Regions from separate parts of the Homo sapiens genome. Here all the other regions are linked to region 3. The links are contacts of gene promoters, found by promoter capture Hi-C in blood cells and fetal thymus (Javierre and others, 2016). All regions are on one chromosome and are shown on one strand. Each heading gives the region's core, a stretch centred on a gene start or on the middle of the fragment in contact. The rest is flanking DNA. Distances are from core to core; before and after follow the strand shown. Region 1 has its middle 27 kb from the start of PRF1. Region 2 has its middle 11 kb from the start of NODAL. Region 3 holds the start of PCBD1 (pterin-4 alpha-carbinolamine dehydratase 1).

What was found. Contacts are between HindIII fragments. The CHiCAGO score rates a contact against its expected background, and 5 or more counts as called.
Region 1: a contact is called between a fragment that was not itself captured here and the fragment with the promoter of PCBD1 in region 3, in 1 of 17 cell types (megakaryocytes). The highest score is 5.3, in megakaryocytes.
Region 2: a contact is called between a fragment that was not itself captured here and the fragment with the promoter of PCBD1 in region 3, in 1 of 17 cell types (M2 macrophages). The highest score is 6.2, in M2 macrophages.

The regions. Positions count from the first base shown.
Region 1 is chr10:70,573,995-70,577,038 of GRCh38, reverse strand. No RefSeq gene overlaps it. Among named protein-coding and RNA genes, the nearest start is that of PRF1, 27 kb to the left of the region's middle. RefSeq lists an enhancer at 567-696. The HindIII fragment of the contact is 2,944 bases long and covers 150-3,044 here.
Region 2 is chr10:70,428,968-70,431,858 of GRCh38, reverse strand. No RefSeq gene overlaps it. Among named protein-coding and RNA genes, the nearest start is that of NODAL, 11 kb to the left of the region's middle. The HindIII fragment of the contact is 2,737 bases long and covers 1-2,722 here.
Region 3 is chr10:70,886,992-70,889,846 of GRCh38, reverse strand. It overlaps PCBD1 (pterin-4 alpha-carbinolamine dehydratase 1), which reads left to right and starts at 1,282. Exons shown (of 4, transcript NM_000281.4): 1 at 1,282-1,316. The coding sequence starts at 1,314. RefSeq lists silencers at 1,166-1,415, 1,746-2,025. The HindIII fragment of the contact is 14,850 bases long and covers 1-2,855 here.

The DNA of each region.
Region 1 (3,044 bases), core at 372-2,871, 310 kb after region 3:
ATGAGATTCCATTCTGAGTCATAAAACTGTGGGCAGTGCTAGCAAGGCTGGGAAAGAGCATGCCCACTCACTGCTATCTGAGACTCTGAAACAGGGCATTTCTAAAGGACAAACTGAAGGTACACATGGAAAGCCTTCAAAATGAAGCTTCCCTTTGTTTAGGAGATAACCAGAGGTTTGCACTTCCATCCACAGATTTGGAGGCACCAACCCAGATGGCTACAGCCTCCTCCATCCACAGGGAAGATTAAGCAACAGTTCCCTGACCCATGACCACCATCGTGGACAGGACCTGCCCCCTCTCTTGAGATGGCAGCATAGGGCAGGGCAAGAACCAGCTCTTAGTCTGCTGGAACTGTACCATGTGAAGCTGGAAACCAGGGTGGTCATTTTCACCAAGCAGTGCCACAGCAGTGCCGGCCTTCAGAGACAAAGCAGGTGCCCAGAGAGGCTGAGACAAGGCAGAGGGTGGGTTGTTCAAGTCTGTGCAAGAAAGCTATTTGGCGAAACACCTGTGAAGAACAAAGGAGGAAACAGAAGGCAACAGGAAGGGCCTTCAAACCACAGTGTGGCTCTAATACCCACAAAAAGAGAGAGGGAAAGAGCCAGAGAAATAAAATCCTAAGCCCCTCAACTGACCAAATGGACCACCTCTTGGCCTAGGGGACCCCCGAGAAACCTTAAAAATGGAGTTCCCGGACATGATGGAACAGGAGGTTGGACAGGCCTCATTATGCCCCCTCCCCCCCTAACCATTAGGCTTTCTTCTCTAAGGGTTAAACAGAAACCACTGCTTCACGCTGGTACCAACCAACTGCCTAACACAGCCCCTCCCCTTTTGCAGCTTGACACAGCAACCGCTAAGCAGTCCCTCCTGATAAAAAAAAAAAAAAACCCTGGCCACAGAGTGGTTCTGGCCAGTCTCCAGAAGCTGCACCCAGAGGGCCTTCGTGTCCTCTGCTTCCCGTTTTAATGTAGAGGGCCTAACTGTAATATGTTTAAATGTTAAGTCTCCACCCCAAAGTGAATCTGGGACACGTGTTACATACATGTTACCCTACTACGAATGCCCTTGCCTCCCCTTTGTGAATATTCATTGCTGCTCCTATAACCTGTTGAATATGTATATCTGGACACCCTATTCAGCGTAAATCCCTGTCTTATTCTCCCCACCTTCGAAGTGTCTGTTTCTGGCTTCTGGCCAGAGGCTACGTTTCCCAGCCTGTCAGAATGACCACCCAGCAGGTTGCAACCCTTTATGAGAAATAAAGCTCTCCTTTCCAAATGTGTATGAACCTCATCTTTCCTCAGTAGACACAACAAGCCTGACACTGCAGGATAGCTCTGGGCAACTCTTGGTCAGACCAATGGGGAGGCTCCCAGCCTCGCTGCAGGATGGAGGGGCAGACACAGCCAGCTCTATATCCCTGCCCTGCTCAGTCAGCAGCCTGTGGGTGGAGTGTGCTGGATGGGGGAGCAAGGCCTTGGCACGAACACTGTGTTGGATCCAGAGGTGCAATTGCTGGAAGGTGGTCCAACTGTTCTCTCTGCAGCAGCAGCAGGTTGTCCTGAGGGGAGAAGTGAGTGGTGCACCCCTATGGAGGACACAGAGGGAGCTTCCAGGACTCCCCGGGCAGCCTCCTAGTCCCAGTCCCTGCTGCATTCCTGCCATGGTCCTCTGCTGGTCATATATATATATATATATATATATATACACACACACATATATATATATATACACACACATATATATATATATACACACACATATATATATACATATATATATACACATATATATACATATATATATACACATATATATACATATATATATATACATATATATATATATATACACATATATATATATATATATATATATATTTTTTTTTTTTTTTTTTTTGAGATAGAGTCTCTCTCTTTCACCCAGGCTGGAGTGCAGTGGCGCGATCTTGGCTCACTGCAACCTCTGCTGCCTCAGCCTCCCGAGTAGCTGGGATTACAGGTGCCTGGCACTAATTTTTATATTTTTAGTGGAGACAGGGTTTCACCATCTTGGCCAGGTTGATCTTGAACTCCTGACCTCATGATCCACCCACCTCAGCCTCTCAAATTGCTGGGATTACAGGTGTGAGCCACCGTACCATGGAGTCATATTTTTTACACTCTCCCTCTTTGCTTAAGCTAGCTGGGGCTGTTTTCTGAAATATGTCACCCAAAGGAGTCTAATTATTACCTGTACAAAGATTTGTGTTTGAAGACATTATTTGAAGTATTGTTGTAAGTTTTAACATTAAAAACCCCAATGCAAGTCTATATATCCTGTTAGAGGTTTGAATTACACAGGTGTATGCATTTGTAAAAACTCATCAAATGGGCTGGGCGCGGTGGCATACGCCTGTAATCCCAGCACTTTGGGAGGCTGAGCTGGATGGATTATTTGAGGTCAGGAGTTCAAGACCAGCCTGGCCAACATGGTGAAAACCCACCTCTACTGAAAATACAAAAATTGTTAAGTAAGATTGGCTAGGTCCAGGTTCATTCTGCCTCTGCACAGTGAATAAATCATGATGACATGGGTTTTGCAAAAGAGAAAGATTTGCAAGGGCAATACATGAGGAGGTGGGAGAACAGCTCTCAAAACCACCCCCACCCGACCCTTGAGGATAAGGCTTAAGGATATTTACAGGTAAGGGAAGTGGGATGATCTAAATCATGGGGACAGGTGATTGGCAGTGGGAAAAAAATGAAGTGACAGGTTCCTCCTGAGCAAGGGTAGTCAGGCTTCACGGCACTTCACAGGGCACATGCAACAAAAATGGTGGCATTTGCATGATCTGAGGGTGTTGTCGTCGGCCCTCTGACTTCAAAAGGCCACCCCTTGGGCACTTGGGCAGTCTAGGGTGAAGGATCGGGGTCTCAGCTAGTTTGAACTAGACAGGCGCTGGCCAAGTTCCTGAAAAACACTGAAGTGAATATTACCATGGTGACCTATGAATGTTATCTATAAAGTAGCCAGTGAAGGTTAAGTTCCAGTGTTC
Region 2 (2,891 bases), core at 105-2,604, 460 kb after region 3:
CTGCCACATGCCCTTAATCTAACCTTTATCGGCTCTTTTGTTACTCAGGGTTCTAAGACAGACTTAATTTCAGGTTCCACATGGGAAGCACAGCAAAAGGAGCCTGAGTGAGGCAGCTCTATCCCCAAAAACCCCTGACCACAGTTATCTTCCAGGTAAAAAGACCTCAAAGGCAGCAATTCTGGCTGGGTGCAGTGGCTCATGCCTGTAATCCCAGCACTTTGGGAGGCTGAGATGGGAAGATCACTTGAGTCCAGTAGTTCAAGACCAGCCTGGGCAACATAGTGAGAACCTGTCTCTGTTTAAATAAAACAAACAAAAGAAGCAATTCTGCTCTTAACAGCTTGATCTCATTGAGCATTGCCAAAGCAGGGGCACTTTTTTTGTAGTTTCATGGAGCAAAGGGGCCACTTTATTGGGAATGTGAGCCCACAGTATATCTACCCCATTCTGCTTTCCCAAGAAGCCTACCCACTTATGCTAAAGAAAATGATTCCAATCATTTGTGAACCCTGTTGAGCTCAGACGAACTCAACTGAGGCTTTGGTTGAGTCAACACCATAGTCATGGCCCAGAAAGGGGCTGGATTTGCTGGAGCCAGGCCTGGGCTTGAGAAACCTCAGTGCCTTGATTCCACAACAAAGCTGATCCAGCTGTTCACTGCCTGGACTAGAAATAGACTGCCCAGATCCAACAATTCAGAATCAACAGGATTCTGCATCTGCCCATATACAGAACAGCAGAGCAGGGACAACCTTGTGAGGTCAGCTTGTCTGATCCCCATTCCTAAGTGAGACCCCAGGGAGGCCTCAGGGCCTGACCACACAGCTAGGAGTGGCAGGGCCAAGAGCTGAGCTCTGGTCTCTTGAGCCCTACGGGCACTTACTGCTTAACAGCAACTAGAGGTTTGTGCTCACCTATCTTGGGATCCAAGCCTTAGCCTTTAGAACCAAACATTTGAACCCAATTACACTACTGAACTAGTTCTTAGAAGTGAACATCCCACCCCAGGACTTTCTTACATGGCTGGTGCCAGAGAGCGAAAGGTCAAGCTATTTGTAGCTACAGCTTGTGGGAGTGTTTACAGTCAGCTGTATTGACTCCAAGAACAAACCCTTGACGACAGGGCATTGCCTCATGTCAAATAAAAGTAGTGCACAAAGTAGTGAAACTCTGTGTTTTGCTGACCCCTGCTGAAAGCTCAGTGTTTGCTACGTCAGCAGCAGAGTCATTCTGTTGCCTGGACAGAGTCACTGGGGCAAAGCCTACCTACCCGAGCCTAGGGAATAGCTCCATGCTCTAGGCCATGTGCTTGCTGAAGGCTCTATAAGTCACTTTAAATACTACCTTGGAGAATTGTGTCCTGTCTGAACCTGGGATGTTTTCTGTTGTTTTGATACAGGATCTTGCTGTCAACCAGACTGGAGTGCAGTGGCACAATCATGGCTCACTGCAGTCTTGCCATCCTGGACTCAAGCAATCCTCCTACTTCAGCCTCCCAAGTAGCTGGGACTGCAAGCATGCACCATCATACCCAACTAATTTTTTAGATTGTTTTTTGTCAAGACAGGGTCTCGCCATGTTGCCAAGGCTGGTCTCCAACTTCTCGGCTCAAGCTCTTGTCCTGTGTTGGCCTCACAATGTGTTGAGATTACAGCTGTGAGCCACTGCACCTGGCCTGAACCTAGGGTTTTAAGAGCACTCAAGAGTTATTTTAACTTGCTCTCAAGAAGTGCCAAGTCAGTTGTGAGTGGTAAAAATTGGACACATTACACTCCTTGGCTGAGGAAGTGGGTGGGCCTGGCAGTAGGTAAGCCTGGAGAAATTAGAAACATTGTAAGAAACAGAAACACGGGATCCATAGAGATGTGGGGAGTGGCTGTGACCCTGGGATAGCACCCCTAACCTGGGGTTTATCTCCGTCTTTAAGTCTTCCTTTTCGGTCCGGCGCGGTGGCTCATGCCTGTAATCCCAGCACTTTGGGAGGCTGAGGCGGGCGGATCACGAGGTGTGGAGTTTGAGACCAGCCTGACCAACGTGGTGAAACCCCGTCTCTACTAAAAATATAAAAATTAGCCAGGCATGGTAGCACGTGCCTGTAATCCCAGCTACTCAGGAGGCTGAGGCAGGAGAATCACTTGAACCCAGGAAGCGGGGGTTACAGTGAGCCGAGGTCGCACCACTGCACTCCAGCCTGGGCAACAGAGCAAGATTCAGTCTCAAAAAAAAAAAAGTCTTCATTAGCAGTAAGATCCTTACCTATCCTAATTGCCTTTAGGGCAGAGTAAAGGATGTAGGAAAGCGCTTTTAAGGTTTTGGTCCCATCTTCCCTTAAAGAGATCCTTTAGTCCTTCTATAGGTTCCATGAGTAGGTGGTAGCTGCAGTGCTCAAACCTGTTCCATTCCTAAACTTACACACTTGGAGGGAAGAGGAGAGGGGGCTGAATAATCTCTGGGTGTCCATGTCAACCGGGCTGTGCTTGAGTCCCTTAAATACTGTTTCCTGAGCTGAGTATACTAGGCACTGGGCTCTTTATGACATCAACTGGGCCTGACAACCACCTAGAAAAGTTGTTTCTTAACCTTATTTTAGAGAAAACTGAGGCTTGTAGAATAAGAATTCTGCTGGGTAATTTGGCTACTAAGCAGCACAGCTGGAACTGAAGCTGCCTGACTCCAAAGCCTGTGCCCTAAACCCCTAGACAGTTCCGATGGGAAAGCTTCCTCCAGTCCAGTTTTATTCTGTGGACCTCTGTGCACGTGAAAGAATTCTCATTCTCAGGACTAATACATGAAACCCGCTGGATTAGTTAACAGCAGGGAATCTGACGCTCATGCAGCACAGCTTGGTTTGAGGTAACAGGCATGATGGGCATCTAACCAGTGCTCCC
Region 3 (2,855 bases), core at 33-2,532:
AACATCAAAATAGAAATCCATAAAAGAAACATTTGATATATTGGATTTCATCAAAATTAAGAACGTTTGCTCTTTGAAAGGCACCATAAGATAATGCAAAGAAAATATTTGCAAATCACTGCCTGATCATGTCCTTATATCCAGAATAAAACACCCTCAAAACTCGATAAGAAGACAACCCAATTTCTTTTTTAATGGGCAGGAAATTCAAACATGCTATTCAATAAAAAAAACTTATCCTTAGCAAATAAGTACATGAAAAGACATTCAATACAATTACTAATCAAGGAAACTCAAAACCACAATGAGATACTGCTACACACCAATTAAAATTTAAAAGGCTGACTATATCAAGTGTTGGTGAGGACAGAGAACTGCAACCTTCATACACTGCTGCTAGGAATATAAAATGATACAACCATTTTGCAAAACAGTATGGCAGTTTCCTAATAAGTTATAAAAGTCCACCTACCACATGACCCAGGCATTCCATTCCTAAGTGTTTACTCAAGGAAAATTAAAACATACGTACTTTCGAAGATTTGTGCACCATATTCGCAGCAGCTTTATTTGTAATAGCCAAAAGGTAAACAACGCAAATGTCCAATAGTGAATCGCTAAACAAATTGTAGTCTATCTGTACAATGCAATACTATAAAATAAATTTTACTTAGCCATAAAAGGAAGAAACCATTGATATAGGCAACAACATGGCTGAACCCCAAAACAGTTATCCTGCCTAGTATATACTCTATGGTCCATTTACATAAAATTCTAGAAAATGCAAACTAATTTATAGTGACCTAAAGTACATCAGTGCTTGCCTGGCCAGGTGGTTTCGGGAGGAAGGGGTTACCAAAGGGCAAGGGAAAACTTGCAGGGATGATGATATGTTCATAATGTTGATCTCGGTGATGGTCTCACGAGGGAAACATTAAAATTTATCAAATTGTACACGTTGAATATGTGCAATTTATTGCATGTCAATTATATCCAAATAAGAGATTTTTATAAAGAAAAAAATAGGTATTCTGGCGCCCAGGGCCACCCAGCTGTAAGCGGCGGGGTGGGATTCCAACCCAGAAGCGGGCATTTGGAGCCCTCATGCTTCACCCTAGCTCCCTGAAACAAGCACGGAGGATGGCTCTGAGCAGCGAGGAAAGTGCTGGAAGCAAGCAGGCCGAGCGCGTCCCTGGCTGGGGACGTTAATCATTACCGGAGGGCGGCCCGAGCGCGGCCCCGCCCCGGGACGGCAGCCTGCGCGCCCGGCCGCCGCCTGCCCTCTCCGCTGGCCACCTGCTGCCGCCCGCGCCATGGTGAGTCCAGGGGTGCGCGGCCGCGATCGGGGCAGCGGGGCCGGGGCAGCCGCGGGCGAGGTGGGAGCGGGAAGGGGCGGGGGAAAGTCTTTTCGAGTCCCCTGCGGAGCCGCCGGGGTCCGAAAGTGGGGTCTCTGCCCGGCTCTCTGTCGCTGGCGGCGGGGAGGGGAAGCTGAAGCCCTGAGAGGGGCGGTGGCGGGTTCGAATCCCACCCAGTTGGGAGGCCAGGCCTGCCCTGACCCCGGCCAGTGCTTGTTCCGGGACCCTTCCGGGGGCGGGGCCTACGACCTTCCTGGGCCGGGGAAGACAGTCGTGGAGGAGTCCACGGATCTCGTCCCCTTGGTGGCCCGATTCTGCTTTATACTGGGGTGGGAGCGAGAGGGAGGCTGAGTTTGCGCGCTCGTGTGCGTGCCTGTCCGCTGCCCCTTCCCGCTGGCACTCTGGGTACGGGGTCTGCCTGGGACTCACGCTCTGCGCCGGTATGCTGGCCCCAGAGCCACTCCCCGCGCCGGCTTGAGGCCCGTGCCAGGCCACGGGGGCTTGGTGGCGCTGGAGCAGCCCTCCTCCCGTGAGCTTCCCCCACCCACCCCCGGGGCGGGGGCGGGGGCGGGGCCCTTGCTCTGCTGTAAGCTCGCGAGCTTCATCAGACCATTTCTGGTCCACAGGCCTTCGGAGCAGGCAAGACTGGGAGGGCCTTTTGATAGGAGAGGGACTTGGGGGAGGGAGGATGAGTGGGGCTGTTTGTGAGGGGCGCTGAGGTCCCAGAGATGCAGGCTTGGGAAATCGGTAACCACTCCCCACACCTCGCCAGAGGAGGCAAACGGGGCAGCGTCCCCCTCTCTGTCTCCAGAGCCGGCACCTGGAAGGTTTGTCAGTTCAGCCGCAGGCTGTGCGACCTGGGGGGTTCCAGAAGGCTCTACCGAGAAAGGGAAGCCTCCTAAGAGCTCACCTGGACTCACCCACCCCTTTAAGAGCCAAGGAAGTAAACAGTGGGCTCTGATGCTTTGGCTGACTTCTGGTTGTCTAGATACACGGACCAGGCGGTCAGCCACGGGGAGAAGGCCAGCTCTGGAGTAGAGACCTACCTACTGGGCAGATGATGCAAATCGCTGCTGCCATTCAATCCCTATAGTCATCCAGAGCCGAGGGGAAGAGAGGGGCCAAGCTACATCAGTCCAGAGAGAGCTCACGTTTTCAGGAGGGAAAACAGCAGGGAAAAAAGACGGACTTAGGAAAGCACTGCGATGCTTCAGCTACCCCAAATGCTACCAGGCCCATCACAAGCCTGCTTGCCTTAGGAAGTTTTTTTTTTGTAATGCAGATGACATTTGCTTTATAGCAGTGGAGTTTCCTAAAGTGTCCCATTGGCACCTCATGATGATCTGTGGAGGTGGAGGTTCTGCCAAGAGAGGTACAGCCACCTGGCTGGTAAATGGTGAAAGCGGGTCTCAAAACTCCTGCCAATCAACACATGGTGTCCAGTCTGCAGGCTGCCTCATAAAAGCTAAATCAACCTCCCTCACATTCCCTCCCCACCCC